Linked DNA regions of Homo sapiens: regions 2, 3, 4, 5, 6 and 7 are each linked to region 1. Evidence: promoter capture Hi-C in 16 types of primary human blood cells and fetal thymus (Javierre and others, 2016). All regions are on one chromosome and are shown on one strand. Each heading gives the region's core, a stretch centred on a gene start or on the middle of the fragment in contact. The rest is flanking DNA. Distances are from core to core; before and after follow the strand shown. Region 1 holds the start of IMMP1L (inner mitochondrial membrane peptidase subunit 1). Region 2 has its middle 2.7 kb from the start of HIPK3. Region 3 holds the start of CSTF3 (cleavage stimulation factor subunit 3). Region 4 overlaps QSER1 (glutamine and serine rich 1). Region 5 overlaps ARL14EP-DT (ARL14EP divergent transcript). Region 6 overlaps ARL14EP (ARF like GTPase 14 effector protein). Region 7 overlaps EIF3M (eukaryotic translation initiation factor 3 subunit M).

Evidence for each region. The method cuts DNA at HindIII sites, captures the fragments that hold promoters and counts their contacts. A CHiCAGO score of 5 or more calls a contact.
Region 2: a fragment that was not itself captured here is called in contact with the fragment with the promoter of IMMP1L in region 1 in 2 of 17 cell types (total B cells and activated CD4 T cells); the score reaches 6.6 in total B cells.
Region 3: a fragment that was not itself captured here is called in contact with the fragment with the promoter of IMMP1L in region 1 in 6 of 17 cell types (fetal thymus, activated CD4 T cells, total CD8 T cells and 3 more); the score reaches 12.2 in fetal thymus.
Region 4: a fragment that was not itself captured here is called in contact with the fragment with the promoter of IMMP1L in region 1 in 1 of 17 cell types (fetal thymus); the score reaches 8.0 in fetal thymus.
Region 5: a contact is called between a fragment that was not itself captured here and the fragment with the promoter of IMMP1L in region 1, in 3 of 17 cell types (naive B cells, total B cells and monocytes). The highest score is 8.0, in naive B cells.
Region 6: a contact is called between a fragment that was not itself captured here and the fragment with the promoter of IMMP1L in region 1, in 2 of 17 cell types (total B cells and naive B cells). The highest score is 5.4, in total B cells.
Region 7: a fragment that was not itself captured here is called in contact with the fragment with the promoter of IMMP1L in region 1 in 1 of 17 cell types (naive CD4 T cells); the score reaches 5.5 in naive CD4 T cells.

Annotation. Positions count from the first base shown.
Region 1 is chr11:31,506,944-31,511,268 of GRCh38, forward strand. It overlaps IMMP1L (inner mitochondrial membrane peptidase subunit 1), which reads right to left and starts at 2,679. Exons shown (of 6, transcript NM_001304274.2): 1 at 2,576-2,679. It overlaps ELP4 (elongator acetyltransferase complex subunit 4), which reads left to right and starts at 2,824. Exons shown (of 10, transcript NM_019040.5): 1 at 2,824-3,064. The coding sequence starts at 2,842. RefSeq lists enhancers at 2,817-3,706, 2,839-3,128. The HindIII fragment of the contact is 1,748 bases long and covers 2,165-3,912 here.
Region 2 is chr11:33,252,552-33,256,876 of GRCh38, forward strand. It overlaps a transcript of HIPK3 not described here. Among named protein-coding and RNA genes, the nearest start is that of HIPK3, 2.7 kb to the right of the region's middle. The HindIII fragment of the contact is 3,038 bases long and covers 1,018-4,055 here.
Region 3 is chr11:33,159,621-33,163,945 of GRCh38, forward strand. CSTF3 (cleavage stimulation factor subunit 3) reads right to left here and starts at 1,860. Exons shown (of 21, transcript NM_001326.3): 1 at 1,679-1,860. The coding sequence starts at 1,705. It overlaps CSTF3-DT (CSTF3 divergent transcript), which reads left to right and starts at 2,037. Exons shown (of 4, transcript NR_034027.1): 1 at 2,037-2,161. RefSeq lists enhancers at 222-1,089, 1,825-2,244. The HindIII fragment of the contact is 203 bases long and covers 2,120-2,322 here.
Region 4 is chr11:32,895,243-32,899,567 of GRCh38, forward strand. The region is part of intron 1 of QSER1 (glutamine and serine rich 1); the gene reads left to right. Among named protein-coding and RNA genes, the nearest start is that of QSER1, 4.6 kb to the left of the region's middle. The HindIII fragment of the contact is 4,008 bases long and covers 308-4,315 here.
Region 5 is chr11:30,312,712-30,317,036 of GRCh38, forward strand. All of the region lies in intron 1 of ARL14EP-DT (ARL14EP divergent transcript), which reads right to left. Among named protein-coding and RNA genes, the nearest start is that of ARL14EP-DT, 8.1 kb to the right of the region's middle. The HindIII fragment of the contact is 1,519 bases long and covers 1,040-2,558 here.
Region 6 is chr11:30,331,165-30,335,489 of GRCh38, forward strand. ARL14EP (ARF like GTPase 14 effector protein) reads left to right here. Exons shown (of 4, transcript NM_152316.3): 2 at 1-210; 3 at 1,702-1,829. Among named protein-coding and RNA genes, the nearest start is that of ARL14EP, 10 kb to the left of the region's middle. The HindIII fragment of the contact is 886 bases long and covers 1,716-2,601 here.
Region 7 is chr11:32,598,240-32,602,564 of GRCh38, forward strand. It overlaps EIF3M (eukaryotic translation initiation factor 3 subunit M), which reads left to right. Exons shown (of 11, transcript NM_006360.6): 9 at 2,450-2,593; 10 at 3,523-3,583; 11 at 4,040-4,325. The coding sequence ends at 4,160. Among named protein-coding and RNA genes, the nearest start is that of EIF3M, 17 kb to the left of the region's middle. The HindIII fragment of the contact is 227 bases long and covers 2,071-2,297 here.

The DNA of each region.
Region 1 (4,325 bases), core at 1,429-3,928:
GCGAGACTCCGTCTAAAAAGAAAACAAAAAACAAACAAACAAAAAACCCATATTTGGCTGACGCGCTGGCTCACACCTGTAATTCCAGCACTTTGGGAGGCCGAGGTGGGCGGATCACGAGGTCAGGAGACTGAGACCATCCTGGCTAACACGGTGAAACCCCATCTCTACTAAAAATACAAAAAATCAGCAGGGCGTGGTGACGGGCGCCTGTAGTCCCAGCTACTCGGGAGGCTGAGGCAGGAGAATGGTGTGAACCCAGGAAGGCACAGCTTGCAGTGAGCCGAGATCGCGCCACTGCACTCCAGCCCGGGGAACACACCTAGACTCCGTCTCAGAAAAAAAAAACAAAAGCATATTTATCCTACGATAGTGTTATACCAGATATATATCCTAATTTCATGAATACTCTGGTGTGTATATAGATCATCTTTCCAGAATTATAGTCCAAGTCAAAGTTGGAAAATAATTCTTCAGTTCTAGTAATGAGGCAAACAAAGCACCACTATCATCATCTTGGGAAATCTAAAGGGTTAAGTAAATACAGTAGGAAACAAGGGAATATGTAATACAGAAGCCTATAAAAACGAATTATACCATTATGTTAAGTGAAATAAGTCAGACACAGAAAGACAAATATCACATGATCTTACTCATAGGTGGAATCTAATAGTTCATCGCACAGAGAGTACAATGGTGTTTACCAGAGGCCAGGATGGTTGGCAGGGGGGATGGGGAGAATTTGGTCAAAGATACATAATATCAGTTAGATAGGAGGAATAAATTTCAAGAAATCTATTATATAACATGAATTTATAGCAAGCTGACTATAGTTAATAATCATATATTGTATTCTTTAAAAAAATGTAAACAGTGTAGATGTTATGTACTCTTACCACAAAAATGATAACTATGTGAGGTAATGCATTGCTAATTAGCTAGATTTAACGATTCCGGAATGTACATACACTTCATAGCATCATGAGGTACACAAAACAATGCCATCTGTCAAAAAATAATAATTATATGTAGCATTTCAAAAAGTTCACAGCATCAAAAATATTTGTAGGGGTGGGGGGACAGAGAGCATCAGGAAGAATAGCTAATGGATGCTGGGCTTAATACCGAGGTGGTGGGTTGATCTGTGCAGCAAACCACCACAGCACACGTTTACCTATGTAACAAACCTGCACATGAAGCCCAGAACCTAAAACAAAAGTTGAAGAAAAAAAAAATTCAAGACGTTTCTATCTGATATTGGACTGCTTTGTCACTTTTTCTTTTGGTCTTCCTAGTGCTTATTTACTACAGGATAAAATTAGCACATGCTATTTAATGTGTTCATTTTAAGTACTATGTTGTTTTCTATGTGTTAATTTTATCTCCTCCAGGTGAGACCATTTTTATTACCATAGGTCTAAAATGACAAGATTAAGTCCAAACAGACAGTAATCACTCAACAGCTATTTATTGAGTAACTTAAAGATTCAATATGAAAGCAACCTTGATCAAAGCTTTCCAGTTGATATATTGTGAAACAGGGTTTTTTCCTAAACATGATTCTAAAAAACAAGCAAACAAACAAAAATCCTCCCCAAATGAAAAACTCCAGTCACTATTTAGCAATACTAATTTCAATTTATCAAACAGAATCAGCCCAAAAATTTCAACAGGTCAGTGAGATTTAAAACAATTCGATGGCAAGAATTTCAATGAGGTTTGGCTCTAATTAAAAGGTATCACAGATCACTGTCAAAGTCAATAACTCAGTAGTGCGGTAATGATTTGGGAGTCCTTTTCAATTTAGACATTTGTCAATCATGATTGCCTTTAAACATCAGTTACCCACTGTCCCTGCTCAGTTTTGAAAAAAAAATTAAATACAAAAATACAACTCAAAATACATGTTTTTTCCACACATAAAATTGGTATTTTAGTAATAAACTCTCGATTCAGGGTTCATAAAATAAAGTAGGTATACTTCTAATTCTTCCTAGCAGTTTTTTGGGGGAAAGAAACCCTAAGTATTTTCTGTTATTTGCAGCTGCTTTAACAGCAAACGACAATTAAATGTGTGAACAAGGTTGTCAGAGTAACACTTGTCATTTACACCGCTTAGGAAAGACATCCAAGACTTCCAGAAACACTAATTAAAATTAACAAAAGCTTCTTATCGGAACTTGTCAGAGAGCTATAGTTTGTCAGACACAGGAAAACCAGATAGCCTCAAAGTTCAAGAGTTTTCGCTCTAAGGTTTAATTCCAAACCACCTACCACTAGGCACTAACGAACTAAGCCCAGACGCTCAGCAACCAACTCATTAAGGTAAGAGATCCCATCCTTTCCATATAACACAAAATTAAGAAAAAGACATCGTGGGGAAGGCGGAGTGAATTTTCTATCAGAAATCAGAAGATAAATGAGCAGGAAAAAAGTCTATCCTCACACACAGCGGAGAAAGGTGCTAGCAATTGCTTGATAAGCCCTAAGGGTTTATTGTTTCACCAACCTTTTCTTTAACTCAATGTGAATGAAGGCACTCAAAAGGAGAAGAACGTTACGTGATATTACCTACCTCGGGCCCCAAAGAACCCTGGAGACCCTCAACCAGGACACAGGTGGGCCTTTCTCACCTGGGCCCCGCCGAAGTCGACCGTCCTTTCGTAGGGCGCACTTTTCAGCAATACGCCTTCCGATTGGTTGGCTCGGGACTGACGTCTCAGTCCTATTGGTTACGAGAGCCGCGGTTGGGGCGAGGAGGCGGGAGTTTGGCACTGGTTCTGATAGGACGGGTGTTTGCGTTCCCAGAGTTCCTATTGGGTTAACACTGGAGGCTCTAAGATGGCGGCAGTGGCAACCTGCGGTAGTGTTGCCGCGAGTACTGGGTCTGCAGTGGCGACAGCCAGCAAGAGCAACGTCACCAGTTTCCAGAGGAGGGGTCCTAGAGCCAGCGTGACCAACGACAGCGGCCCTCGACTGGTGTCCATTGCGGGCACGCGACCGTCGGTGCGGAATGGACAGCTGCTGGTATCAACCGGGCTCCCAGCCCTAGACCAGCTCTTAGGTCGGTTCAGAGCGGAGATCTGGGCTCAGCCGAGGGGAAACTTAGGGAGGGGACCTGTCGGGGAAGCCACTTTGACCCCACATCTCTTTCTGACCCCTAAACCTTCGGAGGAGGAGAGAATAGCCTGGTCTGATTGAGATGGAGGGGAATACGGGTTGTGTGGAGACTTCTGAGCGCTGTTAACTAAACATGTTTTAGTGCCCTCGCTCTCTATTTCATTCCCTGCCCTCCAACCCCTTTTCATATTACGGAGGAATTCGTACATGCTTTTTACCCTGAAATGCTTTCTAGTCAAGGGAAGACATTAATTTATGGAGATGGTTTGGCTTTCATTCAGGATACCTCCCTTCTGCTTTCTCCAGGCAGCTCACGGTTTAGACCAGCCTGCAAAAGTTTTTATAATTGTGAGAGACAGACTTCATTAGAAGATGCTGGAAAAAAATGATTTCCCCTCTTTGACCGTCAGACTGCCTGTTCTCTGGTTCTAAATCTTAAAACATTTTGGCTTTAAGAGAGCGAATGTTAAAGGCTTATGTTGACACATAATCCTTATAAAGTATTTTGAGCCTGTCGTTGATATTTAGATAGTGTCTGCGTTAAATCTGTGTATATATTTTTTATTTTTTCTATATACATTTTGCTTCCCAGTATTGATTGCTGCTACATTCCATACGACATCTTTAAATTTAACTCACATTTTAACGAGAAAAGTCTAGTTCTTAGGCTTTCCTTTAAAATCTCTGGAATTTTTTATGAGAAGCCTGCTGAAGAATATGCTTGTTTCATAACTGTTATATTCAAAGGAATGACCAGATTAAGTTGGTAGGACAGATTTGCTGTGTTAATAAAGCTTCTAGATTAATTTCTGAATGCTGTTTCATTAAAACCCCGTCTGTGTTTACATAACTTTTTTCATAGTGTGTGATATGTGTCTGTTAAATCTTGTACACTTTCATAAAATATAACTCATTGCTTGTTCTTGTACTTCGTTTGACATTTCTTTCGGTTATTTTCCCCTCAAAGTAGGCTTTTCATAGGTTTAGTGCAGAGAAAGTAAGAAGACCAGCAACCTATGAGAAAGAGTATGGCTTCTTGATTCTCTCATTTCATTTTCCGGTTATTTCTAGATAAGTTTAAGTATTTTTCACTTAATTGTTTCAAATATATTTTCCTCCTGAGTTGCATGGTACTGTAAATAGAAGTGATTCAAAATATCTAGTTAGCAAATATATAGTCCACCGTTTTTCCCTTGTGAGCCTCA
Region 2 (4,325 bases), core at 1,287-3,786, 1.7 Mb after region 1:
TGCACTCCAGCCTGGGCAACAAGAGCGAAACTCCACCTCAAAAAAAAAAAAAAAAAAAGCCAGGACCTCCTGGGAGGGAGGAGACAGAAGTCCCCTTGGTGAACCTCTCCTCCTTGATATTAGTAACTAGGGGGCTATTTTTGGTTGACAGGGTACCTCCTATTCTCCCAAGGTGTAATGGTAAGAAAGGATACCCAAGGACTAGAGAAAAAAACAAAAACAAAACAACAACCAACTTCCCTGAGGAAGGGGAGTGTGGATTGGTGACTCAGGCTCTGAAAAAGTTCCCAGCTTTTTCTTGAAACTGCATGGCTTTGGACAGAAGCGTCGGCATCATTTGTGGAGACTGCGGAGGGCCATCTCTTCACAGGAACACCTATATGTGGTTTAACGAGGAGCAATGGCAGCGAAGAACACAAGGTGAGTGCGAGGAGGACTGGCCTCCTTTGGGAAGAGTAATGTTATTTTTATTTATTTATTTTTTTAGGCAGAGTCTCATTCTGTCACCCAGGCTGGAGTGCAGTGGTGTGATCTCGGCTCACTGCAACCTCTGCCTCCCAGATTCAAGCTATTCTCATGCCTCGGCCTCCCGAGTAGCTGGGATTACAGGTGTGTGCCACCACATCCAGCTAATTTTTGTATTTTTAGTAGAGACGGGGTTTCACCATGTTGGCTAGGTTGATCTCGAACTCCTGACCTCAGGTGGTCCACTCGCTTTGGCCTTACAAAGTGCTGCGATTACAGGCATGAGCCACCACGCCTGGCCTGGGCAGAGTAATTTTTGGAGGTAGAGGTGGGAGGAATAGCTGAGAGAGAGGGCTTGGATTTCATGGCTAGGTGATCTCAAACAATTGTGACTGCTCGCAGTCTGAGTTTATGGAGGGTTTCTTACTGATTCCATAGAAAATTTATTTTTTCACTTTACAAATATTTGAGTTCCCTTTACATGCAAGGCCCTGTTCTAGGCTCTGGGGATCAAAGCATCAAGAAAACAGACAAAAATTCTTGCCCTGTGAAAGCTTACCTTGAGGGACAAGGGAACAGAAAATATATATCATAGTATCTAAGATGATGGCAAGCCCTAAAGAGAAAGATAAAGACAGGGAATGTAAATATAGGTGGTCATCGCTGAAGAGGAGGCTTCACCATGAAGGCAATATTTGAGTAAGGACAGGAAAGAAAGGTGGATGGCTATACTTGAGGAATGTTTCAGGCAGAAGGTGATCCAGGCACCTACGGAGCTCCAGAGAGTGGCTGGAGTAAGGAGACAAAAAGTTGATTGAGTTCCTTGTGGGCTAGTTCTGTGAAGGATTTTATTTGTTTATTTACTTACTTACTTACTCAGAGACAGGGTCTTACTCTGTCGCCCAGGCTGGAGTGCAGTGGTGTGATCACAACTCACTGCAGCCTCAGGGCCCATCTCAGCCTCCCGAGTAGCTGGGACTACAGGCGTGCACCACCAGGCCAGGCTAGTTTTTGTATTTTTTGTAGAGAGAGAGGGGTTTTTGAAGAGGCTAGGTCTTGCTCAGTGATAGAATTACAGGTGTGAGCCACCAAGTCTGGCCCTTAAGTAATTTTTTTGAATGAAAACATTAAGGTTTTCTTTAGTATCTTCCTGTTTTATTTTTTAGAGGCAAGATCTTGCTCTGTCACTTAGCCTGGAGTGCAGTGGCGAAATCACAGCTCACTGCAGCCTGGAACTCATGGGCTCAAGCAATCCCCCAACCTCAGCTTCCCAAAGTGCTGGGATTACAGATGTGAGCTACCATGCCCTCCCCCAGCCTGCATTTTTGAGAGATCTTAGCACTATGAGAAATTTTCCTTAAAAAAAAAAAACAACCCTCAAACTTTGTAAAATAGCTACATTAGGGGCTTTGGGAGATTATCTAGATGTTTGTGTTCAGAATAGATTTGAAAGCCAGGCGCAGTGGCTCACACCTGAAATCCCAGCACTTTTGGGAGGCTGAGGTGGGCGGATCACTTGAGGCCAGGAGTTCCAGACCAGTCTGGCCAACATAATGAAACCGCATCTCCATACTAAAAATAAAAAAAAAATAGCTGGCTGTGGTGGTGCGTGTCTGTAATCCCAGTTAGGTGGGAGGCTGAGGTGGATGGATCCCTTGAGCCCAGGGAGTTGAGGCTGTGGTGAATGGAGATCACACCACTGTGCTCCAGCCTGGGTGACAAAATTAGACTCTGTCAGGTCAGGAGATCAAGACCATCCTGGCTAACATGGTGAAACCCCATCTCTACTACAAATACAAAAAATTAGCTGGGCGTGGTGGCACGGGCCTGTAGTCCCAGCTACTTGGGAGGCTGAGGCAGGAGAATCGCCTGAACCTGGGAGGCGGAAGTTGCAGTCCCAGCTACTTGGGAGGCTGAGGCAGGAGAATCGCCTGAACCTGGGAGGCAGAGGAGCTGATATCGTGCCTCAAAAAAAGAAAGATTTGAAGGGGAAGAGATTAGAGGTAAAGAAATTAGGTTAGGAGACAATAGGTATAAAGTGAAGGGGGGCTGGAATATATCATTTACTTATTTTGCAACATTTACTAAGGTCTTACCACAAGTCAGGCACTGTATTAGGCACTTGCAATATAATGGTTAAAAAAAAAGATGAGGCCGGGCGTGGTGGCTCATGCCTGTAATCCCAACACTTTGGGAGGCTGAGGTGGACAGAGCACGAGGTCAAGGGATCGAGACCATCCTGGCCAACATGGTAAAACCCCGTCTCTGCTAAAAGTACAAAAATTAGCTGGGTATGGTGGGGCATGCCTGTAGTCTCAGCTATTCGGGAGGCTGAAGCAGGAGAATTGCTTGAACCCTGGCAATAGAGCGAGACTTCATCTAAAAAAAAAAAAAGATGAATGAATCCCCTCCTGGAATATATAGTGTAGTGAGTAGCAACATGCAGGAGATAGAAAGGAAAATAAATCCTTGTCTCTCATTTCCATCTCTTCATGGATGTAGCAAATACAGGGAATGGAAGCCTTCCATTAGAGATGGCCTCCTTAAATGTCTGCAAAAATTCTGAAATTTGAAGTTCTAGTGGAATAGTTTCTCTGTTCCTCCTGACAGATTTTTCTACTATTGTAGCTTTCTCCGTTGAGTAAATGATTTTATCCTCTTTGATTCTTTTGACTATTGTTCTTAAGAAAAATAAAAAGTAACGAAATACTAAGTGAAAAGGAATGGTTCATAGGCTATCTCTCTGAAAGGCAGCCATTGTTTTGTTCTTCTATATTGGAAGCCTTTTCAGCTGGTTATCCTCTCTAACCTGAAAACAACTGTCATTCGAAAGTGTTATTTCCAGTGGCCTCAGGGCATACTATCCTTTCTCTTTTATTTTATTTTTTGAGACAGAGTCTCTCCCTGTCGCCCAGGTTGGAGTGCAGTGGCTCAAGCGATTCAAGCGATTCTCTTACCTCAGCTCTCGAGTAGCTGGGATTACAGGCGCCCGCCACCACGCCCAGCTAATTTTTGCATTTTTAGTAGAGACCAGGTTTCACTATGTTGGCCAGGCTGGTCTTGAACTCCTGACCACAGGTGATCCACCCGCCTCAGCCTCCCAAAGTGCTGGGATTACATGTGCGAGCCACCGCGCCCGGCCTCCTTTGTCTCTTAAAGGCATTATCCAAAATACTCATCTTCCGGTTTGAAGAGCAGCAGGGATTAAATGTGTATTATGTATGCAGCAATTTGCCACTCCCTTTGCCCTGCCCCAGTTACTGCAATAGAAAATTTCTGGGAATAAATACATCTCTGGTAAATTCAATCTTGCTAGTGAAGATTATGAAGGAAACAAAGAAAGGACACTTCCATTCCAGAAAGGTGTTTGTTTCCCAAAAGGTTAGACATTGATTCAGAACAAAGGGAACCTGAGGAAACGGGTATAAAAGAAAATCAACTCTGAATGTGAGGTATTAGAAAGCCATTTGTTTCCTAGGGAAAAGGAGGAAAGATGGGGTGGGAGACATGGGCTTTACTGTATAACCTTGGTCATGTCACCTAAACTTCTTGGAACTCCTGAGTGTAAGAGTTGGGACCAAGGATCGCAAAGCTTCTTTCATTCCTAAAATTCTATGGTTCCACGATTATGTAAGCTGAAACAGGCCATTCTGTTGATTTCCTAATCTCCAGGAGGAAAGAAACTAGTCTTTGGGAGTTAAACCGACTAATTTAACGGAGAATTACCAATGTGGAGGTGGGCGAACTTCACAATTATGGGGTTTTGGACAGTAGAGATGCTCTTAAAATTTCCAAGAGGACCCTTCCCCCGTCCTTGAACCTGGCTTTACAATTCTCTTCACTCTTTGGGATAGGGGAGC
Region 3 (4,325 bases), core at 971-3,470, 1.7 Mb after region 1:
AAATTAGCTGGGCATGGTGGCGCGCGCCTGTACTCCCAGCTACGGAGGAGGCTGAGGTGGCAGGATCACAGAGCGCAGGGAGGTCGAAGCTATGGTGAGCTGTGATGGCGTCACAGCACTCTAGTGTGAGTGACAAAGACTCTGTTCTCAATCTATCAGCATGGGGAGATAAAGCAAATATGGCAAGGCTTTCAGCTGTTGATTCCAGGCGAAGAGTTGTCCTACAGGTGTTCACTGCACTTTTCTTTCAACTTTTCTCTATGTTCTAAACTTTGCACAATAAAACCTTTGGGAGAAATTATTTTTCTATAAATTTTCACCACCATCTGTCCCACTGAAACACCACAGTTCTAAAACATTCAAGAGGTCATGGTAACATTTCCGTGTCTTTGTAATTTTAGATAAATTCTAAGAATTAACAATGAATTTCGAAAACTTTCAATGAAACCTCAGTTCATTAGTCCTTCACTTTCAGATAACAAATACTAGATCAGAAAAGGGGTAAACAGTTTTGATACAGTAATTTTAAGACTTTGCATGCTTGGGCATGCTAACACTATGTAAAATGTAAATAGTGCGAAGATTTCTGGACTGAAACCAGTCCTCGGGCAAACACAAAACAATTTAATCAAACTGCCGACATAATGAAATCTACAGTCTTACAGACTATGCAATAGAACGCTCCTATTTTGCCTCATCTCTGCCAACCTCCAATAACATCTTCCACGTTATAAGCTAGGGAACCTGAAAAACGAAAACCTAAGTGCATGTCGTTGCTATGGCAATGGGAAATTTCAGGAAATTGAGACTGCAGGCTACCTAGCCTCCATTTTAGAAACTGTATTTATCTAAACACACCAGGACTTAGATCGAAAAACACATTTAATGGCATTTTTCATAACTATTTAGCTTCCTCTTTCACACTAAAAGGTAAATACTATCCTACAAAATTCTGAATACAAAGAGCAAAAGAAACAAATCACACTGATCTAACCTAAAAGTGTGAATTTTAAAATATTTAGTTGTCACTCATATTTACTATTAAAACAGATGCTTTTATTTACAGTGGCCAAAACAGACTTCTCATTTTCAACTTATACCTGCAATGTTTATGTAGCTGGAAAAATGAAAACGAAATGTGGCTAAAAGAAAAGAAAACGAAAGAAAGCCACAAAATTCCCAAAACCTCAGCATAACTTGCTTCTTTCTTCACTCGCTCTCATTAAGTCTTAATTCTCCAGATTAGCTTTGTCTCAAATATTTCTCAAACTAGTAACCTATTTCTGGGTACAGTATATTTGGCGGGGTAAAAGAAACACTGTCAAGTTTTTCTAAAACGTCGGGTGCACGTTAAAATAATTCCTATCCACTCTAATACCAAAACGATATCAAAGGAAAGCATCCCATCTGGAGTAGTCCCATGAATCTAAATAGGACGAAGCAGCCTACCGCTATTGTCTAAATCAAGTATTTACTCGTATTCATGCCTAAGAGAGAGAAGTAAAAAAAAAAAAATTAAATCTTAGATCTTGCTCCCCATTCCCACCACTCTTCTATATACCCTGTCCCCCGGGTTCACTAGACCCAATTCCTTCCTCAGCCGAACATGTCTGGAGCAGTCGGAGGAACAGACGTGGAGAAGAGGTCGCCACGAGGCCCCACCACTCTCCTTCCTCACCTGCTCCGTGGCTCCGTCTCCTGACATGGCCTCAGCTGATTACAACGTGCGCACTGACCGTCGATGGGAAGCTAGAAAAGAAAAATTAAACTAAAAACCACCCCCAAATCAGTAAAGTTACCCCCTGCCCAGCTGAGCCAGACCGCCAACACCAATCGCCACCGCCCACTCAAATATGAATTAAAATGGCTGCGCCCCTGCCGGCCGAGGAGGAGGTGTGTGGCTTCCGCATTAACTTCCGGGGCAGTGGGCGGGGCTAATTTCGCGACTCTGGTTATTCCGAGCGTGCAGAAAGCAGCGAGATCCCGGGGCGGGCCCAATTCCTGGGCTGACGTCACTACCCTGGCTTGGAGAGGCTGTTGCTGAGCCGGCTCCAACCGGCTGGAAGGCGGGAAGCTGTTTCGCCTGGAGGCTCGCGCGCTTTTTGGAATTCAGTTATCAAGCTTTAGAGCCTGGCTACTCACAGTTGAAGCCTGATTGCAGGTCAGCAATGCTAAACGTTAAATGCCTCTTATATTTAGGGGATAAGGACTCCGTGGAGGTTTTCTCTGGTCCCAGCTCCTGCTTTTTACTTTTCTTGGGGGTGGGAGGGATAGATCAAGCCCCCATTAATTTTTACTGCCACCGTCGACTCTTGTGTAGAAAGCTTTGAAGTCTGAGACCTGGGTTTTCAGCTCAACATCTCAGCTTGGTTCCTTGACTGCAAAGTAGGTATAATTGTTTGTAGCCCAGACTGCTTGGATTTTAACGAAGATAAGTAACTCTGGTAATTAAACTTCGTACCTCAGCTTTCTGGCCTATAGATGGGAATAATAATAGTACCTGCAAGTGAAATAAATTATACATAGAAAAGTGTTAGAACAGTACCTGGCATTAAGATTAAATGAGATTGACTGGGCGCGGTGGCCCACGCCTGTAATCCCAGCAGTTTGGGAGGCCAAAACGGATGGATCATTTAAAGTCAGGAGTTCTAGGCCAGGTGCGGTGGCTCACGCCTGTAATCGCAGCACTTTGGGAGGCTGAGGCGGGCGGATCACAAGGTCAGGAGATGAGACCATCCTGGCTAATACGGTAAAACCCCGTCTCTACTAAAAATACACACACACACAAAAAAAAATTAGCCGGGCGTGGTGGCGGGCGCCTGTAGTCCCAGCTACTCCGGATGCTGAGGCAGGAGACTGGCGTGAACCTGGGAGGCGGAGCTTGCAGTGAGCCGAGATCGCGCCACTGCACTCCAGCCTGGGCGGCAGAGCGAGACTCCGTCTCAGAAAATAAATAAATAAAGTCAGGAATTCAGGACCAACCTGGCCAACTTGGTGAAATCTCGTCTCTACCAAAAATACAAAAAAAGTAGCCGGGCGTGGTGGTTTGCGCCTGTAGTCCCAGTTACTCGGGAAGCTTAAGCAGGAGAATCGCTTGAACCCGCGAGGCGGAGGTTGCAGTGAGCCGAGATTCCAGCCTGGACTACAGAGCGAGACTCCGTCTCAAAAAAAATAAAAAATAAAAAATTAAATGATACTAAATCTTCTCAAACTGCTCTTCCATTTAAGCGTCATCGTTAGATGTCTGCAAGCATTTCTCGCCTACGGGGGTCCAATGCCCTAAAATAACCTAGTGAACTGTTCCCAGACTCGCCTTATTCTTTTAGGTCTCCTTTCCTCTGCTCAAACTTACACTTACTCCCTTTCCACAGGCTGAAATCTTACCCTTAAAATAATCAGACACATGAGCAAAAGATATGTATTAACAGATGTTCATTGCACCATCCAGCAATGGAGGACTGGTTAAAAATATCACAAGATTTATCTCTGCAATGGAATATCACACAGCAAACTGATGCTAATGTACGATGACTGACAGAAAGGCAACCACCGTATTAAATGAAGAAAAGCAGAATATGAAAGTGTTTTACGTATATATACTTACCACTTTAGCATCCTAATCTGAAAATCCAAAATCTGAAATACTCCAATGAGCATTTCCTTTGAGAGTCATGTCAGTGCTTAAAAAGTTAGATTTTGGAGCGTTTTGAGTTTTGGAACATTTAGGTTTTTTTTTTTTTTTCTCTTGAGGCAGAGTCTTGCTCTGTCGCCCAGGCCGGAGTGCAGTGGTGCGATCTCGGCTCACTGCACCCTACACCTCCCAGGTTCAAGCGATTCTCCTGCCTCAGCCTCCTGAGTAGCTGGGATTACAGGCGTGCGCCACCACGCCCGGCTAATTTTTGTATTTTTTCTTTTTCTTTTTTTTTTTTTGAGACGGAGTCTCGCTCTGTCGCCCAGGCTGGAGTGCAGTGGCACAATCTCGGCTCACTGCAAGCTCCCAAGCTCCGCCTCCTGGGTTCACTCCACTCTCCTGCCTCAGCCTCCCAAGTACCTGGGACTACAGGCGCCTGCCACCGCCCTGGCTAATTTTTTTGTATTTTTAGTAAAGAAGGGGTTTCACCATGTTGGCCAAGCTGGTCTGAACTCCTGGCCTCAAGTGATCCACCCAACTCGGCCTCCCCAAGGATTGGGATGACAGGCGTGAGCTAACGCGCCTGGCCCAGATTTTTGAATTAGGGATACTCAACCTGTTATAAATATATATATATATATATATATATATATATATATATATATATATATATATTTTTTTTTTTTTTTTTTTT
Region 4 (4,325 bases), core at 1,062-3,561, 1.4 Mb after region 1:
TACCCCTCATGCCCTCTCCCCCTGCTTTTTTAAAAAATAAGCGGTGGGGGGAATCAGCTAAAATACAGCATAGAAAATGCAGGTTTACCCCCCTCCCCCGCCAGCCTGCTTTGTTAACATCTTGTATTGGGATCAGGCCATCTGTACAGAGTTACACTTCTGAATTATACCTCATTTTATTCCTCAAACTGTGCAAATATTCCCTTTGATTTCAGTTATATCAAAAATGGCAAATCTGAAATATGCCTTGTAAGTCTAAATATTCTACACTTCAGAAGCTTATTTATATTTTTATACCATTTTAAAAAGCTTTTTCATAATGCACATATCAGTTGAATGTTTTTGTTCCCCTTTGTGGCAGTTTCTTGTGAAGGTGCAAATGAGTACTAGTTGTGATGATGTAATATGGATACTTATCCATAAAGAATTAGCCTGTCTGTCACCTTGTTTCCTGTAACCTATTCAGAAGCTGACAGATGGTAATGACATTCAGTTGTTGCCGACAGGGATCTAACATCCTACTTTATGCCTTCTTGGTCTTGAAATACATCATTTTCATCAGTTGATGGGAAGGTACATGATAAACAGCTTTTCATGAGTTTGAAACAATACTTTTTTGAATACAACAGCTCTGTTAGTTATTAGGTAGTTTTATTGTACTAACAGTGGAAAAATAGAGTGGGAAACTCCAGCATTATACCTTAAATGGGGCTTATAGAAAGATTTTTGAATATTTCTCAGAGTACTTGCTAGGTACTTGGAAAGTACAGGGATAAGGACTGGCCATATAAATCTTCATTTATTTATGCTAATTTCAGTTCGTTTTAGGAACTAAATGAATGAACATGTCCTTTGCTGAACACCACGCAGTTGGAAATACCTTTTGGGGTGCAGTTTTGGATGTTGTAAATACCTTTGCATAGCTTGGGAAATAAGAAGGTCATCAAGAGTCTGCAGATCCATTGCCGCATTCTGTACTTGATACTTATATCTTGGTCACAACAGGAAGAGGCAGGCTGTTTTATGGTGATAATCGATGTGTTCGTATTTGAATATGCACCAGAAAGTAAGGGAATGGAAATATTTTGTATTTAAATAGGTTTATTTATTTTATTTTATTTTATTTTTTGCGATGGAGTTTCGCTCTTGTTGCCCAGGCTGGAGTGCAACGGCGTGATCTCAGCTCTCTGCACCCTCTGCCTCACGGGTTCAAGCAGTTCTCCTGCCTCAGCCTCCTGAGTAGCTAACCACACCTGGCTAATTTTTGTATTTTTAGTAGAGATGGGGCTTCACCGCATTGGCCAGGCTGGTAATTTTTGTATTTTTAGTAGAGATGGGGTTTCACTACATTGGCCAGGCTGGTCTTGAACTCCTGACCTCAGGTGATCCGCCCATTTTGGCCTCCCAAAGTGCTGGGATTACAGGTGTGAGCCACCGTGCCTGGCCTGTTTTTTGCCTTTCTAACTTGAAATAACTTTTGGCACCAGTTTTTAGAATTCCTAATGCATACTTTTTTTTAGTATGAGGTATAATGAGTATGATAAATACTCCTCTGAAAAACCAAAGTAATGATTAGCTCTTCTAAAACCTGTCAGTTTCTATATGATGGACATTTGTTTGATACATTTCAAATCTAGAGTTTTCCTCAAGGTTTTTGGGAAAAGGCCTTATAGATCATAATTTGTAAGGCGTAAGAACAATCTCAAGTTAATGAAAGGTTATTTCAGACAAACTTCCACTGTTAGAGTTCAGAAAGTTTTTTCCCATGGAAACCGTGTTGTAAGTAATAGTAGCTGTCATTTACATCACTAGCAACTAATTTGTGCTAGCTGTTTTAAGTCACACGTACATTCATTTATCAAAATTCATTTATCATGAATAAATGAATACATACATTCATTTATCAAAATTCATTATAAAAATCCTTTGAGGTAGGCATTCTTTTTACCATCCTTTTATGGATGAGGAAACTGAGGGATAGAGACATGAAGTAATTTATACCTACAGCTACATAGCTAGTAAATAGTGGTGCTGTGATTGAAACCTGGGCATTGCAGATCTGGAGCCTATGTGATAACCAGTGTACTGCACTGCTTTATTGTAAGATAGTGGAATGCTGTAATCCACCTATATGTGAAATGAGTTTCTGTGAGTTGGCCTGGAAACCTAAGCATCATTAATATCCTTATTTAAGTGTTCTTTGTCACCGTTGACCATTACCTAGTTGAAATACATTCCTTTTCACTTCCATAGCACTGTACTTGCCTGGTTTTCCTCCTACTTTTCTGGCCCAACGCTTTTTCCTGTTCTTCACTGGTGTTTACTCCTCTTCTGTCTAATCTCTGCATGTTACTGTTTCCTCAGGGCTTGGGATTGATAAATTTCTTGTTCATTCCTTGCTTTCTCCTGCGGACTCACATCCACGTCCATGCTTTTAAATACTATCTCAGTGGAGATGCCCATATTTGAGCAGACTCTTCTCAGGACCTCAGACTCTTCTGAAAACCTGATCACATAACCAACTACCTCTTTGACCTTTTACTTGAGCTTAATGATATGCTTTCCCCACCCATCACACCTCTGCTTCTCTAGTGAGGCCCATCTCAGTAGTCATACCTCTGTCCACTTAGTTGCCCAGGCCAGATGGTGGGAGTTGTGTGTGCTCAGTCACTAAGACCTACTGTTTTGAATCTAATGTCTTGAAACTGTCTGCTTCTTTTGTATCCACTGCTCCAGCTGGTCCAAGCCACCATTATTTTTCACTTGGACAACTGTGGTAGCTTCCTAACTTAGTCATCTTGGACCTTTTCTTTCCTCTCTTCAATTCATTCTTCTTATACCATCCAGAGTGATTTTTAAAAACACAGATCTACAAGTTTGCTCTTGGTCCTTTGCTTAAAGCCTTTCCATGGCTACTCCTACATATTAGGGTCACATTTTTAAACATCTGTAATATGGTCAGGCGTGATATCTCACGCCTGTAATCCCAGCACTTTGGGAGGCTGAGGTGGGAGTATTGCTTGAGCCCAAGAGTTTGAGACCAGCCTACGCAACGTGGTGAAACCCTATCTCTACAAAAAATAAATAGAAAAAATTAGCCGTGCATGGTGGCGTGCGCCTGTGGTCCCAGCTACTCTGGAGGCTGGGGTGGGAGGATGGCTTGAGCCTGGGAGGTGGAGGTTGCCGTGAGCTGTGATGGTGCCACTGCACTTCAGTGTGAGCGACAGAGTGAGAACCTGTCACACACACACACACACACACACACACACACACACACACACACACACATTGTAATGTGCTCTGTATGGCTCTGCGTTTACTGACCAATTTTTTTTAATTTATTTTCTTTTTTATTTTTTCTTGAGACAGGGTCTAACTCTGCTGCCTAGGGTGGAGTACAGTGGTATGAACACAGCTTACTGCAGCCTCGACCTCCTGGGCTCAGGTGATCCTCCCAAGTAGCTGGGACTACAGGCATGTGCCACCACACCTGGCTAATTTTTAAATTTTTTGTAGAGATGAGGTCTTGCTATGTTGACCAGGCTGGTCGGGAACTCTTGGCCTCAAGCAGTCTTCCTGCCTTGGCCTCTCAGGCGTGAGCCACCATGCCTCGCACTGGCCTGTATTAAATTCTTTGAATCATCCTAAATTCCTTCTTACCTTAAGGTTTTCATACATCGTCTTACCTTCACTTAGATAACTCTCACCCTATCCCCACCTCCCAGACTGACTTGTTAAGGTATCTCATGTGAGAAACCTGCAGTATTTTCAACCCTCACTCCTTGTTGCTTTGTGCAATGGTATATGTTTTCACAGAATATTTTATTTTACTTTCATATTCTTAGAAATATATACCTATGTATTGTTTATGTAATACGTATCTTCTTCAGAATGGAGGTTATTTGAAGAACCCCTATGTGTTTTGCTGTTATATTTGTAGTACTTAGTATTTACTTTAATCCATGGCATATAGTTGGTGCTTAATACATACTTATATCATGAAAGCCAGAACTCTGCTTCAGTGTGGGAATTGGAAGCCCCTTTCTTCCTGTTGCAGCCTCTAATGCCATTCCCCCTCTACCCTGTAGTTGGGACCAAGATGAAGGGTAAGTTTGTGATTATCTTTGGTTAGCAGGGTGGGGATATGGGCTACTACTTGTTTCTTCCTTTCCTTGGTATGTTCTCTGGAACAATGAGTACTAAAGTATGTCTACCAAAACACAGTTTTCTTTTATTCATTAAACAAATATTTGAGTACCTGCAATTGTTAAGGCAGTGTTACCTGTATCTCCTTGAGTTATATTTCTGCAGTGAAAGCTTGAGAA
Region 5 (4,325 bases), core at 549-3,048, 1.2 Mb before region 1:
TTACACAGGTGATTGTTGTGAAATTTAAATAAGATAATGCATGCAAAGCACTCCGTCCCCTGCAGAGCACATAAGTGCTCAGTAAAGGAGGATATGTTATAAAACTCATCAAGTCCTGACTATTGCAAAATATATCTTGAATTTATCTCCTCCACCTTATCACTATTTACTCATTCACTCATTTATTCACTTAACAACTTTTTATTGAATCACCATGTGTTCTGGGTACTAAGATAGGCATTGGGAATTCAATGGTAAACAAACTAGACATGGCCTGTGCTCCAGTGGGACTTTCAGAATGCAAGAGAAGACAGACTGTTAAATAGCAATTAAAATGCAAATAATAAAAAGTCATAACTCTGGGCTTTGCTCTGGCTAGTGAAATAATACATTTTCTATGTCCCATCTTCTTCCCCCAGGTTCCTGGGTAAGGGAACATAGGATAAGCCCAGAGATAAGAGAGAACTATTGAAGAAACTCCTGCCAGTGTGATCTATCTAAACCACATATCTGACCAAGTCACTCACTGTCTAAACCAGTGTAAGGCTCTTCACTGCCTTCAGGGTAGAGTTAAACTCTTTAAAATGACATATCTCTCACCAAAGCTCTTAGCACTCTTTCTCTCTCATTTTGTTTCAAAAAAACTAAACTATTTATATTTCTCTATACATGCCATGCTTTTTTATGTCTCTGTGGCTTTGCTCATGCAGTCCATGAAATGTCCTTCACCCTTCCTCTGCCTTGGTAACTCTTCATACCAGCTGGGATTCTCATGGCTGCAGAAGAAAGCAAGCCAGTTCAAACCAACTGGAGGCAAAAAGAGAAATTTACTGTAAGGATACTGGGATGCTTCCTGAAACAGAGAGCAAGGACGTGATTGTATATCTATTGTAGGTAACAACAGAATGCATTCTCTGGAAGACGCATTCTCTTCAGTTTGTCTCTGCTTCTCCCTGTGCATGTCAATGTGACTCACATTGTGGTTATTATTGGTTTTCCTCTATCAAATGGCAGAAAACATAGCAATTGACAGTTCTCAAGCTTCAGTGAGTCCCATGTGGAAAAATCCTAGGGAGGGACATTGATTGCCTCAGCATGTTTCATGTACTCACTCATGGCCCAAACATTTGGGGCCCAGGGATGCAGTGTGATGATGTACAGAATAGCTGCTCTCACCATAACCATGTGGATGGGGGAGGGAATAACCCAGAAAATTTTTGGAAAAAATTACAAAAACATTATAGATATTTTTGAGATTCCTTGAAAAAATGTCATTTGCATAAATGAATTAATATAAATTAAGCATAAATAAGGAATCTCAGCTCAGATGACCCTCCTCCAGGAACCACTCCAGATTCCCTTTATTGGTTTGGGTGCCTGTGTTCTATGCCCACTTACTGCCTCATGAATATGTCTAACACTACTGTTAACATTTTTGATCATCTGTTTCTGTGTCTGTCTCTTACGAATTCTTAGAGGACAAGTATGTAGTATATTCAGTTTTGTACCTCAAAATTTGAAGATACAGAAAACAAAGCAATAGTGAATGTGGAAATGTATTGAAGATTTTTGGAAGAATGAGTAGGTGATTACTTCAACTAACTGGCACTTGAATTTTATTTCTAAAACTCTCATTATAAAAAGTCATCATTTTCAACTTTCTTTTGAGTCAATGTACATTTGCCCTCTTACATAGCAACATCAAGTCATTAATGAGATAATCCCAAACCTTGTTATTACATCGTAACTTTCTCTTAGCAGTAATTATTGGAGGTGAGAGAATCTATATTAATTGACTTGATTATATATAATATTTAAAATCACCTAATTGACACAATTATTATAGAGAAAAACATGTGAAAGCCACATAAATAAACTCCGACTATGCTTAAGAACTGTCTAACCCAGCTCATTTGATAGCCTATTGACCAGTGAGTTAAACAAAACTCTAATTCAATGATAGCAGCATCCTCTGCCCTTTCCAAAAGTGCAGGACAGGATAATATTATCTCATGGTCAAGAAATGTATTAAATATGTGGAAAAATAAAATGTAAAAGAGCATGAGGAGAAACTTAGTGAAAATTAGCAAAACAATGTTCTGTTCTCCCTCTGCTGGCTTTTAGGCAGTATTGCTCTTCAAAGATCTGTCCAAAGGCCCATATGAAATTTTTTCAAGGAATCTCAAAAATATCTATAATGTTTTGTAATTTTTTCCAAAAATATTTAGAATGCTCATAATGTTCATCTAAATAAGCTCCACCAAAGCTAGAGCATCCCCACCAAAGCCATCATTACCTTCTCTTCTTATCACAGATAATGACTAATACAAAATAGATAGAACAAGTAGAATCTAGTGGCTTGACCAATTTTCCAAAAGAGCAATTCAAAAGAAGTAATTGATATTAATATTATAAATAGATATTATGTTTTCTAGTTTTCTAAGAATATGATTCTTACAGATTGAGATGCAGCCTGATTGAGTAGGAAAAACACTGCATTTTTAGAAAGACAACCTGGGTGTGAGTCTTGACTATCCCTATTACTTACTGGTTGTACAAGCTTTACAGATTGTCATTTATATGTTAGTTGTATAACATTACCATTTACGGAACTAAGTCTCATCAACCTCTAAATGAGGAAGCTATGCAACAGAATTGTTAAATCCTTTTCCAGTTCTAGTTTTTTTGTTCCCAGTGCTGTTGAATTATTAATTTTTAATAATTAATTTCTGCATTTAATTCACACCATTTTGGTCATTCGAAGATGTAACCAAAATGGTTCCTGTAACCATCAGCTTCCTTCCTTGACGTTGTGCCAAACACACTGTGGACACCCAGATGAATCCTAATTGACACAATAATGATTGTGATGGCAATAAAGAGCCCTGGGGTTTTTATTTGAGCCAAATTCTTTCCTAGTTATATGGCTAGTATTTTGAATAGCAGCTGTGAACAAATCTGTATTTCCTTCCCCTACGCCACCCCCACAACAGTCTGAAATCTTTACTTTAAATGAGACAAATCAGAAGAACTGCTGAAAAACACAGTTTCAATCTGTCCTTCTGCCCAGTCATTAGTTAAATCCCCTATATCACATTTCTTTAAATCAACTGACTCTTAAATATTGTTATAAGGAAAGCAAGGCCAAGGTGGGTGTGAGGTTAGGGGATACTAGTTCAAATAATGACTCCACTTCTTTTAAATTTAATACCCATCTTTCCAGATTGAAATATACCATGTCATGAATGAGATAATACATGTGAGCTTATCATTCCAGTGTTTTCAGACATAACTGGAGGTCCATAAATAGTAGCAAGAATAATTATAGCTACCACTTATTGAGAACTCACTATGTGCCAGGCACTATGCTAAACTATATATATAAAAAGTTATACACAAACACACACACATACACAAACACATATTCATTTATTCCCCACAAAAACCCTATAAGGCAGATGCTACTTTCTCTATTTTACAGATAAGAATTTGAAGCTTAGAGAATTAATGTAATTTCTACACATTATCCTACTAGTGGCTAAGCCAGGATTTGAACCAGGCAGTCTGATTCCAGAGCCCACTTAGAGTTTTGTTTCATGCCCCAAGGAGGATACTGAAGCTTTAGAAAGCAATTAGTTACGCACCCTCCAGAATAACTAAAATGAAAGCCAACAATAACAACTGAGAACTCCAAGTGGTGGTGAGTATGTTTATGAGTGTAAATTGGTGCTAGAAGGAATGTAAATTGATGCAACCACTTTGAAAAACTCTTCAGCAGTATGTACTCAAACTGAACATACACATTGCCTATAATCCAGCAATTCCACTCCCTACTACATATCCAAATGAAAGTGTAAATGTATGTGGACCAAAAGACAGAATGTTCAAATGTTTGTTGCAGCATTATTTGTAGAAGCCCCAAATTGAATGAACCCAATGTCCATCAACAGTGAAAGAGATAAAAGAAAATGTTGTCGGTTTCACGTAATAGAAATACCACTCAGCAATGACAAATATTTAATTGCTTACGATGTCATACAGCATCAATGAATTTCAAGGACATAATACTGACCACAAGAAGCCAGACACAAAAGAATATATGTGGTACAATTCCAAAGCTCAAAGTCCAGAAATAACCAAAACCAATCTATGGTCAAAGAAGTTAGAATGGTGGTTACCTTTGGTAAAAGGTGCTCACAACTAGGAGACAGCATACAAGAGACTTCTGGGGAGCTCATAATTTCTTGACCTGGGTAGTGGTTATACAAATATAAAAATGTATCAAGCTATAGACTTAGAACTTGTGTACTTCTTTGTGGTATGTC
Region 6 (4,325 bases), core at 909-3,408, 1.2 Mb before region 1:
AAGTCATGTTGTGACCCATTTAACATACACAAGAAATTAGCCAAAAAAAATTTGCATGTAATTGACTTAGATGATGCCACTTTTCTGAGTGCTAAATTTGGAAGACAGCTTGTACCTGGTTGGAAGCTTTGTCCAAAATGCACACAGATAATCAATGGAAGTGTGGATGTTGATACTGAAGACCGCCAGAAAAGGAAACCTGAGTCAGATGTATGTGTAATAGTCATTTTTTTCTACATTGTGAATTCTACCATGTAGGATTTTGCTTAACTATAAGAAAATCATATTTACATTATTACTAAATTTGTTAGCATACAGTGAATTAAAAGGAGGGGTGAAAGTGGATGATGTTTCTAAATATTATTCACATATACTGAAGGTCAAGATTGGGGGATAAAGAAAGTAGGCCTGGGAAAGTAATAATAAAATATGCCTAAGACTCCAAGCTACAACTTTTAGTGCGAAGACTTTAGGAGTGGGTTTTAGAATATTCTGGCCAAGCCAGGATTTAGTTTCTTTTCTGATACCAAAGTAACTACACGGGACATGGCAACCACCAAGGGTCTTTGCAGCAGGATGACTTCGCCTTTATATGAAGGACTTGGAAATCACTGCTTTAAAAGGAACATTAGAGAGGTGACTTACAGTAATTGTTTTTTATTTCACTCTTTTTTTCTCCTTTGACACTGTCTCGTTCTTGAGTTTTTTAAATGCTTGTGAATTTTCTTTGCTTCTAGTTCTGAATTCCTACTTGATATGGTCAAGGCTAATTTTAGGACTCCTTGAGGTAAAAAAAAAATAATACATTTTTACATTGTAAAGTATTAAATATTTTACCTCTATTCCTATTGACATGCCTACATGCATATTTAACCATATCAGAACAACTTAAGTTTTCATAAAGCTATCTTTTGTGTAGGACAAGTATATCAAAGAAGCACATCTCAGAATTTTTACTTGTAATTATTTCATAATTCTTACTGCTGGAATATTTTTCTCAGTTTTCTCCTTTTTATTAAACCAAGTTAAAAGATAGTTGAAATTTGAAATTATACTATTTTCCTGTTGTTGTCTTCTCAGAGGAACATCTTGAGGGCCCAGTTTATCTGTAGTTCATACTAGATACTTGCTGATAGTGTCATTGTAGATGTCTTCACCTTATCTATCCAATGTTCTTGTAGAATATATCAGCTGCAGCTCTTTCCTCCCCAAATAACAAACATAAACCCTTAAACACCGAAATTTTGTTTCACCAAAACTTTTCAAAAAGATTATAATACTATTCTAGAACTTGAAATCATATTCTCTGCTCTTAAAAATATATAAAATACAATAATAAGGACCCAGGATTGTTAGGAAATCAGTTATGTGCCACTGGATTATATAGCAGTTTTTGTGCCTTCTCTCCTGTGTTGGCAGCAGCCATTGCAGTTTTCACAATGCCTTCCTCCTCTGCTCCTAATATACCAGAGACTAAAATAAAATAATGGAAATGTTACTAATACATTAACCAATATGCTTTGAATATGGTCTAGGGCCATGTAAATTTTCTTGCACTTAGGCTCTAAAACCTTGTTTTCTTTTTTGTGTGTTCCAGACTGTCTTCCATGTTAGGGAATCGTCTGGTTTAACATTAAATAAAATGTTAATCTGTTGTCTGTTGTCAAGATTTGAGTTGATAATTTGTTTACCTTTCTTCAGGGAAGAACTGCTAAAGCTTTGAGGTCATTACAATTTACGAATCCAGGAAGGCAAACTGAATTTGCTCCAGAAACTGGTAAAAGAGAAAAAAGAAGGCTTACAAAAAATGCAACCGCTGGTTCAGACAGGTAGGCTAAGTGTTACTGAAGACATGTTAACTTGCTGCTTCACATCTGCATTGTTCCCCTATTTTTCTCTTAAATTTTGAATTTTCTGGGTTCATATTTTAAATTGGATAATGTAGAATTAGTAAAAACCTATGAAGGCCTTTGTTTTTATTCATATAAAATTAAGGTATCCCTTTCAACTACAAAAATTTGTTTCTAAGAAGGTAGCAGTGAACTGAAGAAATAATTTTGGCATGAGAGTTAAAATAATTACAATTAAAGTAATTCACTTATTTGAAAAGCATTGTTATTATATATATACGGACATACCTCATTTTATTGGTGCTTCACTTTATTCTTTACAAGGTGCTATTTATTTTTACAAATTGAAAATTTGTGGCAACTCGGTGGTAAGCAAGTCTATTGGTGTCATTTTTCTAACAGCATGTACTCCCTATCTCTGTCGCATTTTGGTAATTATTGCAATATTTCCAGCTTTTTCATTACTGTATCTGTTATGATGATCTTTGATGTTACTATTATAATTATTTTGAGTCACTAGGAACCACACTAATGCAAGGTGGTGAACTTAGTCGATAAATGCTGTGGGTGTTCTTACTGCTCCACCTACTGGCTGTTCTCTAGACTCTCTCCCTCTCCTCAGGTGTCCCTATTCCCTGAGAAACAAATATATTGAAATTGGTCCAACTAATAACCCTGCAATGGTCTCTAAGTGTTCAAGTGAAAGGAAGAGTCAAGTTTCTCATTTTACAAAAAAAGCTAGAAATGATTAAGCTTGGGAGTAAGGCACGTCAAAAGCTGAGACAGGCCAAAAGCTGGGCCTCTTGTGCTAAACAGCCAAGTTGTGAATGCAAAGAAAAAGTTCAGGAAGGACATTAAAAGTACCATTCCATTGAACACAAATGATAAGAAAGCAAAACAGCCTTATTGCTAATATGGAGAAACTTTAAATGGTCTGGATAGAAGATCAAACCAGCTACAACACATTCCCTTAAGCAAAAGCCTAATCCAAAGCAAGGTTCTAACCCTCTTCAATTCTCTGAAGGATGAGAGAAGTGAGGAAGCTTCAGAAGAAAAGTTTGAAGCTAGCAGAGGTTGGTTTATGAGGGTAAGGAAAGAAGCCATCTCCATAACATAAAAGTGCAAGGTGAAGCAGCAAGTTATTAATGAAGGTAGCTACACTACCCAACAGATTTTCAATGTAGACCAGCCTTCTTTTTTTTTTTTTTTTTTTTTTTTTGAGATGGAGTCTTGCTCTGTCACCCAGCCTGAGGTGCAGTGGCGCAAACTCAGCTCACTACACCCGCCACCTGCTGCGTTCAAGCGATTCTTCTGCCTCAACCTCTTGGGTAGCTGGGACTACAGGCACGTGCCACCACAGCCAGCTAATTTTTTGTATTTTTAGTAGAGACGGGTTTCACCATGTTAGCCAGGATGGTCTCGATCTCCTGCCCTCGTGATCTGCCCACCTTGGCCTCCCAAAGTGCTGGGATTACAGGTGTGAGCCACCACGCCCAGCCAACAAACAGCCTTCTAATGGAAGAAGATGCCGTCTTTCATAGCTAGAGAGGGGAAGTCTATACCTGGCTTCAAATCTTCAAAGGACAGGCCGTTTCTCTTGGTAGGGACGAATGCAGCTGGTGACTTTTAAGTTGAAGCCAATTATTTACCTCTTCGAAATCCTAGGGTCCTAATGATGCTAAATGTACTCTACCTGTCCTGTATAAATGGGACAAAGCCTGAATGGCAGCATATCTGTTTACAGCATTGTTCATTGAATATTTTAAGCCCACTTGAGAGACCTCCTGCCTAGATAAAAGGATTCCTTTCAAAATATTGCTACTCATTGACAATGTACCTGATCACTCAGGAGCTCTGATAGAGATGTCCCAGGAGATAAATGTTTCATGCCTCCTAACACAACATTCATTCTGTAGCCCACGGATCAAGGAGTACTTTGACTTTCAAGTCTGTTATTTAAGAAATACGTTTTGTGAGGCCAGAGCTGCCATAGACAGTGAGTGATTCCTCTGATGGATTTGGGCAAAGTAAATTGAACACCTTCTGGAAAGGATTCACCATTCCAAGAGTTTGGAAGAAGATTCGAGTCCTCATGGATGACTTTGAGGGGTTCAGGACTTCAGTGGAGGAAGTAGTTGCAGACGTGGTGGAAATAGCAAGAGAACTAGAATTAGAAGCAGAGCCTGGAGATGTGACTGAGTTATTGCAATCTTGTGATAAAACTTGAATGGATAAGGAGTTTCTTCTTAGAGATGAGCAAAGAATGTGATTTATTAAGGTGGAATCTACTGGTGAGGATGCTGTTAACATTACTGAAATGACAAAGGACTTAGATTATATAAACTTAGTAGATAAAGCAGAGGCAGAATTTGAGAGGATGACTCCAATTTTGAACATTCTACTGTAGGTAAAATGCTATCAAACACCATCACATGCTACAGAGAAATCTTTTGTAAGAAGAGTCCACTGATGCAG
Region 7 (4,325 bases), core at 934-3,433, 1.1 Mb after region 1:
GCATGCATTAAAACTGGGTTTTCTATATTGCAGCATTTTAAGACAGGGGTCAGTGACAATGCAGAAATTGCTCAATGATGCACTTTTTTTATTACTGCATTAAGGTTTTGACATATTAGTAATGAATAAATGTTTCCATAAAATTAGATTTTTTATAACTTTAAAATTGAAATATGACACAGTACACTGTGACTTCCTCTTTGATGGTAGTATTTTAGTTTTATGAAACAAAGCACAGCTTCCTACAAAGTCTTTAACTCATACTTCACTGCCTTAGTAGTTTGATTTTTCAGAACAAGAGTCCTAAGGGTTTTAAGTTTGGTTCTTTGTTACTTTAAACATCAATTTAAAGTGTTTTTAGATGCAAGTTTTCACATGTAAAATAGATAACGGTTTTATGGAATTCAGCCTAGAAATAATCTTCATTCCTCTGATAAGTTTTTTCATTTATGGTAAGATTGTAACTGCAGAAAAGATAAGCAGTAAAATAGATTTAATTTCAGGAGTATTTAAAATAATAGAAATTTCAGAAGTTTCTATCACTTTATATTGAAAGAGAGTTGTCTGTCCATGCCAATAGAACTGAGAATGTTAAGGAATTTTTGAAAAAAATCTTTAATACTTATTCATTGATAAGAAAAAATTCGTTAACATTGCTAATTTATTGTGCCAGCTAGAATTCAAATTCCTTCATTTGCCTTACGTTTCTTGAACATCTATGCAAATCAGTATTCTATTAGAAATTTGTTTATATGCTTTTCAGAAAACATCTTTATATTAATGTGTATATTTTTTATTTTAATTCTATAATTAAACATTTATTACAGCTGAAAGCCTAGTGACAACTATCTAGATTCCACAAGTTGCAATCAGTTTGTCAGAACATTTTCCTTTATTAACACTGACAACTTAGGCCAACAGTAGCATTATCTTGTGTCAACTGAATTGCCCTAACATGTCCACATGTAATCTGGTGTTATCCAGTTGCTACCTTTTGCTTCAGAAAGTTAATCGGCATCTAATTTGCATTGTTAATTAGGGTTAATGTGCACTAATTGATTTCTTGGCGCCTGTAGATTTCCATTAAACCCAGTTAGCAATACTTCCTTGTATACCTCATTCATTTGAGTTATGGTGATCATGTTTTTGTTGAATCTGTGCCAAATAGGAAGCCTGTATCATAATTACAGCTAATTAACAGATGATCATGTCCTATGTTAATGGGCTTCCCTAATCTTCCACTAATATATGAATGTTATAAATTTAAAATTTATTTATGGAGTGTTTAGAGAGTGAACTTTTTAAACAATACAGACTTGAAGCTCTGAATTTATTACAGGGCACTTGATTGATCATTTGCTGATTTTACATAGTTCAAAAGTTCAGAGAAAAGGAACATGTAAATCTAGATTAGTTTTAGAAACTTAGTTTTATAATTAATAAGTTAGCATCAAAACAAGTATATATGATATTATGTTAGAATTCTGCTCCTACTTAGGACTAGGTTATATATTTAGGATTCCTAATTTTTAAAATTTCTAGCCCTTTATTTTAGAAATGAACCTATTCTAGGCCTAGCACTGCTATTTTTTGACTATAAGTCCCCATTTAATCTCTTTGCTCCTCAGTTTTGTTTTTAAAGTGAAAGGATCAGGACTGGGTAATTCCTTAAGTTTTCTTCTAGGCCTAACACATTGTTGTTATTTGAATAATTACAACAGCATGTTTCATTAGAAATTATAATGCAAAATTTGAATTATTTGTGCAATTTTCTACTTTTGTCTTATAAAGAACAAGTATCACTTTTAATGGTATTCTTTAATTATATCTAGTACTAACTGTATTGGCCTATAAATGTTAAATGACACACACACTTTGACAGTTTTGGTTTGTAAGTAGTTTTGATTTTTAAATAGTGACCTGAAGCAAAATGGAATGTTTTCATAACTGAAAATGTTTGTGAAAGTATTTTAAAACTTCAGGTTTACCAGTAATAGTAACACAGAAAAAACTAATAAGTAGATAAGAAATCCTCTGTGTTTAAATGAAGAGCTATTAGTGTGAAAAATAAGCTTAGGTAATTTAACTAAATAGAAATTGTTCTTATGAAATGTACTTTGTAGATTTTATCTCCTAAAATGTATAACTATTTAAAAATGTAAAATGTGCAAAACTTTTAGGGTCTAAAAATAATCATTTTATGGCCGATTCTTAACTTTGAATCTATCACCTATGGTACTATAGAAAAATTGTTTTTAATACTCTGTGGAGTCAGTTTATAGTTTGCAAATATAAGAAGCTTTGTCAAAATTGTTCTATATAAGTGCTCAAACAATAATTTCCACAATTACAAAAGTAAAAATAATTTCCACAGCTTAACATGAGATGTAATTGTGCAGGTCTTTAATTAGTATGAACACTCATCAGGCTTCACTATTCTGTTTTCTAGGCCTGTTACATGAACAGAATATGGCAAAAATGAGACTACTTACTTTTATGGGAATGGCAGTAGAAAATAAGGAAATTTCTTTTGACACAATGCAGCAAGAACTTCAGATTGGAGCTGATGATGTTGAAGCATTTGTTATTGACGGTAAGGCAGACAGAACATTTTCATTTATTTCTAGAATTTCTCATCTACTACATGGATCATAGTAAGATTTTTATCTGGAAACTGAGCCTTACACAACAAAGATTTGTTTATAGCAGATGTGTATTTAGTAGATTAGTGGATATATTTGTTGTAGGGTGAAAATTTAGTAGAAATATAAACTGCTATATTCTATCCCTTGAAATCACGTAGAACAAAGACGTTTAGGCAATACACCACTGTGGTTAAGAGCACAGATTTTAGTATTAGATGTGGATTTAAGACCAGGCCCTTCCTTTGTGAAACAGGAATGTAGGGGTTCATTTGTGGTTGTAAGAATTAAATGAATTAATACAGGTAAAGCACAGTGCCTGGCACATAGTAAGTGATCTTTCAAGTGTTAACCATTACCAGTTTTTTTATGATTAGCCTAGAAACAAGAACTTCTTCCCCAACAATTAGATTATAAAGCAACTTAACTGCTCAGGAATTTTTTCTGAGCTTTTTAAATTTGAAAGTTGGGATTATGCAATTAAGATTAATAAAAGGTACAGAACTATTGACCTTTTTTCCCCTAATGCTCTAAGTTTTCTATGAAGAAGTAATAACTTAGTAGGAAATTAGTTTATTCCCCTATATGAGATGGTAGGGGAAGAACACCTAGCATTCTTTAAAAAAAAAAAAAAAAAAAAAACAGCAAAAAACTGTATGCAGTATTTATTTAATATAGATTGTCCCAGCAGCCATAGGACAAATGCATGACCTTTCTTTTGGTTGCCCCATACTGTTTTGCTTATTAGATTTAAACAGTGTATAATGTTGGAAAACAGTATAAAGTTTTATTATGGCTTACTTGGTCACAGTTTTCATACCTTAGCTATTTTTCTTGGAAATTTTCCATATAACATACGATATAAAACATCTTTTTTCAGCCGTAAGAACTAAAATGGTCTACTGCAAAATTGATCAGACCCAGAGAAAAGTAGTTGTCAGGTAAGATATTTAATGCTTTGCAGCATTTTATAGAACGATTTAGTTTGTTCCGATTATTTCACTTAAATGTTTAGAGAACCAAGGTGGTGTTATCACTTGACTGTAGTTAAATAGTTGCTATTTATCATAATTTTATTAAAGTTCAGACTGAATGTGATTAGCTTATTTAATGAAAGAGTCCTATTTTCCAGCACATTTCATTTAATGGCTGAGCATTGGCTAGAATACTAATGACTTTTATGTCTGCTTTATATAGTTGCTCAGGAGAATTAGAAGGCTTAGGATCAATATGGTAAAGATTTTTTTTAAATAATTATGTAATTCTTAAATTCTCTTACTATTCTAAATTAGGTATATTTAATCTTGCTTTTAACTGGATTCAAATCTGTAGTATTATAAAAGAATACCAGAGGCTAAAAGGTTGACTAACACTGTGTTTAATTTTTCAATTTTTAGTCATAGCACACATCGGACATTTGGAAAACAGCAGTGGCAACAACTGTATGACACACTTAATGCCTGGAAACAAAATCTGAACAAAGTGAAAAACAGCCTTTTGAGTCTTTCTGATACCTGAGTTTTTATGCTTATAATTTTTGTTCTTTGAAAAAAAAGCCCTAAATCATAGTAAAACATTATAAACTAAAAAAATTTGCCTAGTCTGGACAGTTATTGTCTCAAATTTATACTAAAATCACAAACTCCAGAGGATATGAAGTAATAAATTACAAGGGGTCACAAT